4 separate regions of the Homo sapiens genome follow, and regions 2, 3 and 4 are each linked to region 1. Evidence: promoter capture Hi-C in 16 types of primary human blood cells and fetal thymus (Javierre and others, 2016). All regions are on one chromosome and are shown on one strand. Each heading gives the region's core, a stretch centred on a gene start or on the middle of the fragment in contact. The rest is flanking DNA. Distances are from core to core; before and after follow the strand shown.

The links. Contacts are between HindIII fragments. The CHiCAGO score rates a contact against its expected background, and 5 or more counts as called.
Region 2: the fragment with the promoter of IWS1 here is called in contact with the fragment with the promoter of BIN1 in region 1 in 4 of 17 cell types (total B cells, monocytes, M0 macrophages and 1 more); the score reaches 6.2 in total B cells.
Region 3: a contact is called between a fragment that was not itself captured here and the fragment with the promoter of BIN1 in region 1, in 3 of 17 cell types (fetal thymus, total B cells and naive B cells). The highest score is 7.5, in fetal thymus.
Region 4: a contact is called between the fragment with the promoter of MAP3K2 here and the fragment with the promoter of BIN1 in region 1, in 2 of 17 cell types (total CD8 T cells and naive CD4 T cells). The highest score is 5.3, in total CD8 T cells.

What each region holds. Positions count from the first base shown.
Region 1 is chr2:127,105,737-127,108,685 of GRCh38, forward strand. BIN1 (bridging integrator 1) reads right to left here and starts at 1,418. Exons shown (of 19, transcript NM_139343.3): 1 at 1,124-1,418. The coding sequence starts at 1,207. It overlaps LOC105373605 (a long non-coding RNA gene), which reads left to right and starts at 1,409. Exons shown (of 4, transcript XR_923311.4): 1 at 1,409-2,079. RefSeq lists silencers at 1,266-1,475, 1,357-1,651, 1,486-1,545. The HindIII fragment of the contact is 12,156 bases long and covers 1-2,949 here.
Region 2 is chr2:127,525,063-127,528,011 of GRCh38, forward strand. IWS1 (interacts with SUPT6H, CTD assembly factor 1) reads right to left here and starts at 1,427. Exons shown (of 14, transcript NM_017969.3): 1 at 1,113-1,427. The coding sequence starts at 1,146. RefSeq lists enhancers at 637-1,336, 667-746, 757-816, 1,347-1,406, 1,667-1,716 and 1 more and silencers at 997-1,106, 1,748-1,921. The HindIII fragment of the contact is 4,097 bases long and covers 913-2,949 here.
Region 3 is chr2:127,476,931-127,479,879 of GRCh38, forward strand. No RefSeq gene overlaps it. Among named protein-coding and RNA genes, the nearest start is that of IWS1, 48 kb to the right of the region's middle. RefSeq lists an enhancer at 2,877-2,949. The HindIII fragment of the contact is 1,926 bases long and covers 538-2,463 here.
Region 4 is chr2:127,386,725-127,389,673 of GRCh38, forward strand. It overlaps MAP3K2 (mitogen-activated protein kinase kinase kinase 2), which reads right to left and starts at 1,251. Exons shown (of 17, transcript NM_001371910.2): 1 at 728-1,251. It overlaps MAP3K2-DT (MAP3K2 divergent transcript), which reads left to right and starts at 714. Exons shown (of 4, transcript NR_187129.1): 1 at 714-828; 2 at 2,157-2,274; 3 at 2,387-2,461. RefSeq lists a silencer at 671-1,540. The HindIII fragment of the contact is 12,520 bases long and covers 1-2,949 here.

The DNA of each region.
Region 1 (2,949 bases), core at 168-2,667:
ATAAACAGCCACCAGGCCTGGCAGGGGAAGGCCGGCCTGTCCCTGCGCCTCCACCCGGCGGCCGCGCAGCGGGTGGGAGAGGGGGCAGGCCTGGCCGCGGGGCACTGGGGGGCCACCCTGGCAGAAACACAGATTCTGCAATCTCAGATTTCAGAGTTGGAGTCGTCAGGGGAAGTGGCGTCAGCAGCTGGCGTGATCCAATTCAATAAACCAGAGGTGGCTTGGGATAGACAACTGACCGGGTGCAGACCCCCGCCCCTCAATCTCTGCATTTCCTGCACGCTCTGGGCACCCTGGGAGGCCCCGGCTCCATCCCCCATTCCAGCTCTCCGCGAGGAGGGGTCGGGTTTCCTGTGGCGCCTTCCACGCGCCTCCTCCAGGCCAGCTCCCCACCCGGCCGTGGGCTCCCAAAGCCAGTGCCGCCACCCGCTCCCCGGCCGCCGGAAACGCTAAGCCCCTGCTGGGGCGAGGGCACCTCCTTGCGGGGTGCGTAGCCCTGGGCTCCCGGTGGGGCCGGGCTGGGCGGGAGCTTCCAGGCCGCAGGCACCTCTCGGGAAAGGAAACCCAATCCCTCCTTCGGCCCACGGAGAACGAAAGTGGAGAAGCAGTGGGAAGGAAGGAACTGTGGGTGCCGGTTCGAGAAGCAGCCTTGGGAGTCCGGGGGAATAGTGTCCCCAGGGGCAGAGGGACATACTCCCTCTCGCCCCGAGCGCCGGCCCAGCCTAGGTTGCCTGCATGGGCCTGGAGAGCTGAGGGTCACCACCTGGCCTCCCAGCCTCCCGGCCCTTGGCCTCCAAAGCGGGGTAGCCTGGAGCGCGCGCCTGAGAAGAGCCTGGAGCAGGGCCGGCCACTGCTGTGCAGCCGAGCCACGAAGGTGCAAAGCGGGGCCCTGTCCTGCCCCGGCCGGGTGTGGGGAGACAGAGGACGCAAACCTAAGAGGGCACCCAGAGCGCCGGGGAACGCAGCCTGGGGACCTCGAAGCCCCTCGAAAGCGCTCCTCTAGAGGTGACAGCACCAGATCCTGGCGAAGGACCAGGCCCCGGGGTCGGAGGATAGGGGGACAGGTGGCCGGGGCTCCGCGGCGGCTGGGACTCCGCGGCTGCTGGGGCTCCGGCTCGCTCACCTTCTCCTGCGCGCGGGTGAGCTTCTTCTGCACGTTGCTGGCGATCTTTCCCGCCGTCACCCCTTTACTGCCCATCTCTGCCATCGCGGCGCAGGCCTCGCCCGGTGGCAGGGGCCGCTCTCGCGCGGGGAGATCTTGCGCGCCGCGCTCCCAGCCCCCAGCCCCGGCCGCGCGTCCAGACCGGCTGCCGCTCCACGCCGCGCACCCGACAGCGGAGCCAACTGACGGAGGCGGAGCGTGCGCCGGACGGGCGAGCGAGCCAGCGAGCTAGCCAGCGAGCGACGCGGGGACAGAGGGAGGGAGAGGGGAGGGGCCGGGCCTCAGGCCGCGGTCGGCGCCCCCCGCCCGCCCCCTCCGGACAATAAGCTGCCTTTTAAAGGGCCACTCCGGGCGCCGGCACCGCCAGGTCCGCGAGGAGGGAGGGGCGCGCGCGGCGCTGGGGCTGCGGCGAGCGGGACTCCCCTGACGCTCCAGCTGCACCGCCCCGGGGCGGGGACTAATCCGCCGGCCTGGCGTCTTGGTCTTCCCCGCAAGCAGTAATCTCCTGCAACCCAGGAAAGGAGACTAGGTGGAGGAGAGGAGTGCTTTCGAAATCAAAGAGAAAGTGCGGCGAAGGGGGCGCGGCCCTGAACAGAGGAGCCGCGGCTGCTGGGAGAACGCGCCCGGAGCCCCCTCCTTTTCCAGGGGCTCACCTCCCGCCCGGTGCCCGGTGCCCGGTGCCCGACGCTCCGCCTCCTCCCAGCCTTCGGCCCTCGGGTTTTCGCCCGGATACCCTAGGCGCCTCCGGGACATCTCCACATCTTTGCCTACGGCGCCTAGCCCAGTACCAACCGGTGCTTGGTCTTCCCGTTCGCTAAAAATTTATTATAATAACAACAACCTAGCATTACTGAGTGCTTACTGTGTACTAAGTGACTTGACAGGCATTATTTCATTCGGTCTCCGTGGCCCTAGAGGTAGGTGCTATTACTGTTCCTACTTTACAACCAACGCGCCGGGATCGAGGAACGAGATCTCTGCCTCTGTCTCCCAGGTGCTCCACCACCATACGCCGGGTTGTCTCCTACCCCCAGCAGGAAGGAATGATTAGTGATCATTATTCCTGGAGAAGATAAGGTTATTGCTAACCAGCTTTGCCAATAGACCAATGACACTTCTTTTAAGTTAATAAATACGTATTGAGTCTGCTGATACCCACCCCCATTCAGCCCTAAAACATGTCAGGGGCTACAGCACTTTGCTGCCCCTGGAAATTTCTAAAGAACTGTTGATTGAGTTGAGCAGAGAGATAGGTCCCGCTGAAGAGGCCTAGACGTGTCTGGTGCACACACAGGAGCCAGGGCTATGGCCTGCAGGACCCGCAGCGGTCAGAGGAGCAGAGCTGGCCAGGGACAGAGGTCCCTGAGAGGCTTCCTGGAGGAACAGGAAGGGCTCTTGCAGACCACAAACCAAGCAGTTTGTACAAATGGAGAAATCGAGTCCCAGGAATGAGAGGTTCAGCCTGGGTTCACACAGGCCATTCCCTCTTCCCTGGAAGGCCCTCCTGCTCTTTCTCCGGCTACTCGGGGTTCTTCCACCACCGCTCAGTGCTGCCCCATGGCCCAGTGTGTTCGTCTGTCCTCTTCCGGGCCTATTATCATGATGTCCCTCGGTATCCCCCAGGGGACTGGTTCCAGCACATCCGTGGATACCAAAATCCAGGGATGCTCAAGTCCCTCATATGAATTGACACAGTATCTGCATATAGCGTACACAAATCCTCCAAAATACTTTAAATTATCTCTAGATTCTTGTAATAGCTAATACAATTTAAATACTATGTAAAT
Region 2 (2,949 bases), core at 177-2,676, 420 kb after region 1:
TTTTTGCATTTTTTTGTAGAGACGAAGTAGGGGGGTGGGGTAGGGGCGTAGGGGGGTGGGGTACGGGCATGGGGGGTGGGGGTGGTGTTGGTCTCACTATGTTGCCCAGGCTGGTCTCGAACTCCTGGGCTCAAGCCATCGGCCGCCTACGCCTCCCAAAGTGCTGGGATTACAGGCATAATCCACCGCACCTGGCTTAGGAAAGTGTTTTTAAGCAGTGCATGCCTGGAAAACGCTTTGCAGTCATTAGAATTCACTGTCCTACGTAAGGAAAAGCAATGAACTCAAAACAGTAAAGGGCTTAACGCTTAAACAATTATTTAAGCACTCAAGTTTTCTTTTTAATTTTCAATTTTTGTGGGTACATAGAGGGTGTATTTATTTATGGTGTATTTAAGAACTTTTGTAACAGAACGCCCCAACAGGACTAGCACACAAAGGGAAAGCAAATGCGACGTGTTTCCCACACCAGGTTCTGCCTCACTTATCCTTAATCTCAGGTGCCAAGCACCGTGCCAGCAGAGTGGGCCCCAGTAACAGCTTACAGAATAAACAAACAGTAAAGAAAGGAGACCAAACTTCGGTGAGGAGGAAGAGGAACGATCTCAAGGTGGAGGAAAGGCACAAAAACCACCAGTAAGTGCCAGAAGCGCATTCCTTACTCTATGCATGCAACTGAAACATGGGTCCTGCACTTACGTCCGGTGTTGCAAGCAAGATTAAACCACTCCTAACTAGCAGTGAAAAGTCTAGGAAGGATCCCCCGCCCCAACGCCCCTTGGATTCTCCAACTACTCAACTACTGAAAACTCTCTTAACAGAAGACACCTCTCCTTCCCTGCACACAATAGGAGCTTAACATATGAAAGTGACTTCCCAATTTCAGCAAAAACCTTCGCCGATTCAGAAGAAAGCTTTCCCACCAGAATCCCCTCTCCAACGTTCTAGCTTCGACGCTTGCAGCTGGTCAGAGGGCTCTTGCCCTCCTCGGGCCGGGTCGCGGGAGGGAAGGTTTCGGGGGGCCTCCTTGCCCCCACCCGCGGGGTGCCAGGCCAAGCCCCGCCGAGTAACTGCTCCGCCTCCCAGCCCGGTCCCCCAGGTCCCTGCCCCACCTGACTGGTCGCCGCTGTAATATTCCGAGTCCATGGCAGGCGGACTCTCAGCGGGGAGTGTCCGCGCCCCGCGCCGCCCCCGTCACCTCCTTCCAGGCGGTGTGACCCCGGATGGCGCGGCTAAGTGTTCAGAGACTGCCGCCCGACCGGAGAACTTAACGGGTGCGGAGGGTAAGAAAGCGGTAGCGGCAAAGGCGAATTCTTTGACCTGGAAGCCCCGGCGGAAAAGGCCGTACCCGGCAGGCTGGCGGGCGGGCAGGCATGCGAGCCGGCGTTCTACTTCCTAGAAGCACCGCTGGGGCCAAAATGGCGTCTGCCCACGACCCTCAAAGGAATGCAGCGCGCAGGCGCCGCAACCCGTCAACCGGCCAATGAGAAGACGCAACAGCAATGACGCCAGGCACGGCCGGAAAGGAGACTCCTGGGAAAATTGAGCTGGAACTCGGGCTTTAGTTAAATACCTTCCTCGGGTGGATCCTGGTCTGACCCCCGTGGTAATAACGTTATCATTGATTCTTTATCATTTCCTAGATTCTGTGTCCGTGCCTTGTTTGAAGAGCTTTTGAGATACTCTTCCGAAAAATGAAGACCTGCTCAAATGACTTTTCCGTCATTCAGCCAAACCACTGTCTTTCCCGTCAGGCCCAGAGGCGCCTGGTTCCCGCCCGCAGTAGGCAAGAAAGCGGGCGTTGCTCACTGGGACTTGTAGTATGACGCCCGCGAGCTGTGATGCGTTACTAACTGGCGCGATCCACAGCGCCTCCTCTCCCGGCGTCTTCCTCTCTTTCATTCTAAACAACGATTTAATTTCCTTGTTAAGAAGCCATTTAGCCAACAGTAAGAAGTACACGTCTTTGCTTCCAGAAGGGTTCCCCTGATGAAACACCGGAGGAAGGTGAAGTTGAACTTTACCTGAGCCCTGTGTTCCTGGAAAACAGCGGTGATTAAGAAACCCCCTCATCTATTTGTGTTTCTGGAACGGCACACTGTAAAGAACCACCCGTCTCCATGTGACTCAGATAAAACGCGTGCAGATGACCCCCTTGTTTGCCTGTGACAAGGCCAGAGACCTTTCCCCTTTATTCTGAGCCTGTTAATAAAGCCAAACAGACCTTCCAAATTCCCGCTGATGATATCGAGTGATTAGTTGAGATTAGAACTCTCCTCCCCCCAACTTGTTAGACACAGAGAACATTTCCTGTTCACCTGACTGAAACTTCTCCTGATTGCAAAACAATCCCAACTGTCAATCATCCCACCTTCCTCCCTATAAAAGTCAAAACTACGCTGCCAAGACACTGATCATATCTGGAGTGCTCTCCCTATTGCAATAGGCTGAGTAAAATCCATTTCCTTACTTGTTCATTTTAGTCTTGGACAGAGAGGGGAACATTCTTGCCTTTGGATCGGAGGAGGGCCAGTAGAGGTTTAAGCAAAGACTCCCCAGGAGGTGTAGACATGTAGAAAAAGAGCCTTTTGTTACTACTGCAGATATCTGACCCTTCGTTAGCCAGTCAGAGTATGCTGGCAGAGCCCAATTATAGGCTCCTGAAGAGGACGTGGGAAGAGAAGAAAGGGGAGAAGTGGTTTCTCTCTGGAAATTCCCATTTTCCTGCAAGAGAGTTCATGGATATTCCTTTCCGAAGTGGTGGAAACAGCATTGAATCCAAATTCCTTCTTTTCAGCTGTGGGAATGACATCTTCTCAGGCAGTCTTGAGAATCAAAAGAACAAAGAATTAGCAATGCCCGAAACCGAATCACTTGATAGAAGATATCAAGGCTCTAAGCCCTCTTCTAAAGAGAAGGTGAGAGTACACCTGTGTAAATGGAGCAGGA
Region 3 (2,949 bases), core at 251-2,750, 370 kb after region 1:
CATTAAGGAAATTAAAGAAGACACCAATAAATGAAGATATTCCATGGTCATGATTCAAAGACTTAATATTGTTAAGAAGTCAATACTACCCAGAGCACCTCTACAGATTCAATGCAATTCCTAACAAAATACCAATAATGTTTACTGCATATATAGAAAAATCCATTTTAAAATTCACATGAAATCTCAAATAGCCAAAACAATCTTGAAAAACAACAAAGTTGGAAGACTCACACGTCCTGACTTCAGTGGGGACAGACACACAGACAGTTCTATATTGCAACATGCAGACCAATGGAAAAGAAGAAAGTCCAGAAATCAACTCTTACACATATGGTCAAATGATTTTTGAAAAGACTTGCAAGACCATTCCATGGGGAAAATAAGTTTTTTTCAGTAAATGTTGCTGGGGAAACTTGATATCCATATGCAAATGGATAAAGTTGGAACCTTATTTTACACAACATACAAAAAATCAACTAGAAATGGATCAAAGACCTAAACATAAGAACTAAACTTACAAAATTATAGGGTAAAAGCTTCATAATATTGAATTTGGCAATAATTTTTTTGATATGACACCAAAAGCACAGGCAATAAAAGAAAAAAGTGAGATACAGCAAAATTTAAATGTGTGCAACGAAGAACACAATCAAGAGTGAAAAGGCAATCTAAAGAATGAAAGAGAGTATTTGCAAATCATATAGCTGATAAAGCATTAACATGAGTACACAAAGCACTCCTACAACTCACACCAAACAACCCAATATAAAACTGGGCAAATGACTTGAATAGACATTTCTCCAAGGAAGATATATAAATGGTCAAAAAGTACATTAAAAGATGCTCTACATCACTATCATTAGGGAAATGCAAACTAAAATCACAAGATACCACCTCACATCACTTAGGATGGCTACCATCAAAAAATAAAAATAACAAGTGTTAGCAAGCATATGGAGAAATTGGAACTCTTGTGTACTATTGGTGGGAATATAAAATTGTGTAGCCCCTTATGGAAAGTGTATGTATGGCACTTTCTAAACAAATTTAAAATGGAATTACCATATGATCTAGCAATTCTACTTCTAGGTATATAACCAAAAGAATTGGAAAAAAAAATGGTTGTTTTTTAATATCTCTAAAAGTGAAGAAAAAAAGGTCTTGAACAAATACTTGTACACCCATGATCACAGCAGCGTTATTCACAATAGCCAAAGGTGGAGGCAACCCAAGTGTCCATTGACAGATGAATGGACAAACAAAATGTGGTATATACACACACTGGAATATTATGCAACCTTAAAATGCAAGGAAATTTGGACACATGGACAAACCTTGAGGACATTATACCAAGTGAAATAAGACAGTCGCAAAAAGACAAATGTATGATTCCACTTATATGAGGTACCTAGAACAGACAACTCGTAAGAGACAGAAAGTAGAATGGTGGTTGCCAAGAGCTTGGGGGAGGAAGGAGAGTTCTTTGATAGGTAGAGTTAAAATTTTGCAAGATGAGAAGATTTCTGAAGATGAATGGTGGTGATGGCGATACATTGTGAACATACTCAATGCCACTGAGCGGTAAAACTGTTTAAGATAGTAAATCTTAAAACCGGAAGGGGAAGAAAAAAAGCCAAGCATGAGAGTGCATGCCTATAGTCCCAGCCACTTGGGAGGAGACTGAGGCAGGAAGATTGCTTGAGCCTGGGAGTTCAAGGCTGCAGGGAGCTAGGATCACACCACTGCACTTCAGCCTGGGCGACACAGTAAGAACCCATCTCTTAAAAAACAAACAAAATCCCCCACAACTCTGTATCATCATAGCCAAGTTGTCAAAGTTAGTATCATCAATTCTGGGACAAAACTAAAGTCTATGTTCTTGGAAGAAATATGCTGAAGTATTTGGGGCTCAAGGGGCAAGTTGTCGGCAAGTTACTCTGAGTCTGCAAAAATAGCTCTATGCATATACAAGATGACAGAGTCAATGACGTGGCAAAACGTTAACACTTGGTAAATATCAGTGAGTATACCGGAGTTTATTTACTATTTTTGCAACTACTATAAATTGGAAATATCTTCAAAATTAAAGGTTTTTCTGGCCAGCTAGGTTTGAGCTGCCATAAAACCAACACCAAGGATCATTTATATAGAAACTAATTTTTTCCTTCAAACACAGTACAGGAGAATCTCTTACCATTTTGAATTCCCCGGGTATGGTTTAAAACTTTTTACTTGCCAACATCGTTAAAGTTTTACCCTGTAATAGTGAAATTTTCAGGTAATTGGAGCTTACCCCATTAAATGACAAAATTGTGTAACTTAAAAATCTTTCTTAAATACAACCTTTGTTGTCTTTGTTTCAAATTTATTTTTTAATGATCAGTGTAAGGCTTCACTAGATGCCTCTGCTTTTTCCTTCTCAAGTGTTTTTGAGGGTATTTGTATGAAACATTGCAGAAAAGCTTAGGTTTTTGTCTCCATCTAGTGGCTAGCTATTACCTTCTAATGCCTTTATGCACCTGCTTTTTACAAAGCACTATATCCCACTGTGCTTCTGCGTTTGCTGGAAGTAAATAGTTTGAGAGTTTCTTGTGAGCAGTGTTTTAGTATCTAAACTTCATTATTTTAGCTGTTCAAAGGCTTTTTTGGCCAAAAGTAGTTTTATGTGTTTCTGAAGATCAAGGTGCCAATCCGTATCAGAATAGGATTTCTGAAATTAAAATAATCTAGTTGATAAAACGTTCTTGGGCCTCGTCATCTTGACCTTAAGAGACCTCTCATAATTAAGTCTATAGAGACTATTATCACAAAAATAGAGCAACAAGAAACATAGCTACAAGCTATAATTTTTCTCTCTCCTCTAACTGCTCAACTGCTCTAAGCTTTCGGCATAGTGATTTTCAGTTATATCCATATTTCCTTGAAGACAGTAGTATTTCTTGATCT
Region 4 (2,949 bases), core at 1-2,500, 280 kb after region 1:
TAGGGAAAACTAAACTGTATCTGTCTATGTGTTTAGAATTTATCCCATTAAAGAAACTGCCCAGTTAGTCTCATTTTCTAAACGTATTTATTTTTTGCAAGACGAGAAATACAGTCTTACAAAAAGACATCTGCATATTCGAACCAAGCCTTCCTGGATTACTACCTTCATGACCTTGGACAAATGCCTTAATCTCTCTGAGCCTCAAGTTTTCACCTGCAAAATGGGGCAATTTACCCACCTCATTGAGCTGGGAAGATGAAGAGAGATAATGCATGACAACTGCCGGGCGCAGACTAAGAGCACCCTAAGTGCTACCTAAATATTCCGTAAAGAGAAAAGGGGGAAACAACCTTACATCAAAAGATTACCACACTGTGACAGTGCAAAGACAAGCACTTTTTCGCTTACTGCATGTACCATTTCTGCTTCATCCCAAGACCAGATGCAACCTTTCTTCTAAAATCTCTGCAGGGTACGTGTCTGACAGCTAACACAGCCCAGCAGCCTACTTCGCGCTGACCTGGGCTTTAGGACTGGATGCAGGGGGCCCAAGGTCCGCCCTCCCGCAGCTAGGCAATCACCCAGCGAAATCTCCGCCCCTGGAGCGGCGCTTAGGCCGCCGCCAGCCCCCCTCCCGGCGCCCAGCCCGCGGCCCCCGACACACACGCGCGCACACACACACACACACACACACAAGCGCGCGCGCACGCACACACGCACGTACCGGCTGCTCCGCAGGGACGTAGAGAGCCGCAGGCCCAAGGAGGGGCCGCCCCCGCCGAGCCCGCCCCTCCGCCCCAGCGCGGCCTGTCACCGCGGCCCCAGGTCGGGGGCTGCCGCAGGGCCCCCGGGGACCGGAGGGGCGCGCGAGGAGTCGGGCGCGGGCCTTGGGGCCAGGCCCGTCCCTCTTTCACATGAAGCCCGGGCCGGGCGGGGTGGCGGGCGCGTGAATCCTCGCAGCCGGCCGGGTCCTCCTGGCGCTCCTCGGCACTTCTAGCCGCTGCAACCCCGAGGCCCGCGGGAACTGGGCAGGAAAGGAGGAAGCCGCGGGCCCGCGTCGCTAGAGACCGGAGAAGAGGCGGGAGTGGCGACTCTGCGGACAGGGGCGCCGAGCGTCCTGGTCGTTGTTTTCGTCGCCGCCGCGGGCCGTGCAACCCCCGAACGCTGCGCCCAGCGGCCGCGGCACCCTCGTCAGGCGCCGCCGCTGAGGGCAGGCAGCCCGGCAGCCACTACACACGGACCCGTGACGTCGGGCGTAGCGCGGCGCACGTCACGGCCGCTCGCTCGTGCGCGCGCACCCCTCCGCCCGGCGGTAGCGGAACCCGCCGCGGGCGCGCGCCCGGCCCAGGGGAGTGGGTCGGCGCCTGCGCAGAGGCCCGCCACGCCCACACACAGGCCACCGCCCCCACCGGCCGGACGGCGCGGGGATTCCCAGTCCTGGCTCCGCCCCGGCCTCGGCCCCGCCCCCGCCCCTGCCCCGGGGCAGCCTGTGCTGTTCCGTGTGCGCGGCGCATACGCACCTGGGTTGTCTCGAGCCTGCGGTAGTGGCCAGATCCCAGACATCCGAGTAGATCCCGTGAAAAGGTCTCCCACGTGGGCTGTGGACAGGGCCCAAGGGTAGCAGAGCTAGCAGAGGCAGTGACGGACTGTGTGGCAGGTCATTTGCAAGGAGAAAAGCCGTCTGCCTCTTAATTTGTGGCTCAAGTTTCAGAATTTTTTTCCTGAGGGACTTTAGAAATTACTTCAGGCTTGCCACCTAACCTTAAACCACCCCCTTGGAGACTGGCTAAGTGTTATTTGTGTTTTCTGTTTAGTTCTTATCACCATCGATACTTGGTTATGACTGGTTGTGTACATTGGTTAGCCCAGCAAGTATTACTTCTCCAGCTTAACAGATGTGGAAACTTAAGCCCAGAGACATGAGTTGACACCCCACCCCCAAAGCTAGAGTCTAAAACCCTTTCTTTCGCTCCTCATCTCCCACAGGATAAAATGCAAATTAATCAGACTAGTGGTGAGGCCCTCCGTGGTGTGACTAACCTGCATCCCGACGTTTTCACCCTACTTTGATCCAGAAAGCACCTTTCCGCCCCATCTCTTCTCCTTTCCTTAAATACCCCTTACAACTTCCTGTACCATTCTTCCCTGTTCAGCTTCTTCTTGGTTTCTTCGTACATTCTGGATCCACCCCTTTCATGCATATTCCAGACCACATTTCCACTGGAGCAGTTGAAATGAGAGAGATGGGAATGGGACTCACCCGAACCAGAGGTAAGGAGCTACCCAACTTGGGCTCTGAGGGTCAAGGGAGCTGGCACTTGTGGGGCAGAGACTGAGGGAGAAACTGTTGTGTAATGTCAAAATATCTCTGGGTTTCTTCCAGGAATTTTTATTACAGACCCATTAACAGAGGTGTCAAAGTCACAGGAACAAGGATGTGCACCTCAGAAACACAGAGGTCAGTGGAAAATCAGTTTGCTTCTATTTGTTTAAAAAATGGGGGACTTATGCATAAATCTAAGACCTTCTTGAATCTAACATTCTAAGACCTGTATGCCACAGAAAGGAGGGTCTCAGAACGCCGGAGGATAGTATTTAAATCTTAAATATCTATATTGTTCTCCACAGTTACTGGGTCACCACATAGCAGGCATTCAATAAAAACGTGTTTGTTTACTAAGTAATCTAGAGATAAATTTTTTCCCCTCATAGTGCTGCTCATTTCTCCACTCCCTTCCCTCACTTACCACCCCGGGGACTTCATTCACCTCTGGGTTCCTCAGAAACATCCCGTGGGTATAGTTATAGTAGCTATTCTTTCTTTTTCGCCATTCTCCTTTTATATTGGTGACTTTTCCTCTTGCTTAGATATTAAATCTCTGACATCTTTGGTTATTTTAGTATATATGATTACAAATTAGTGATATTGGGATTTTTTTATTGATG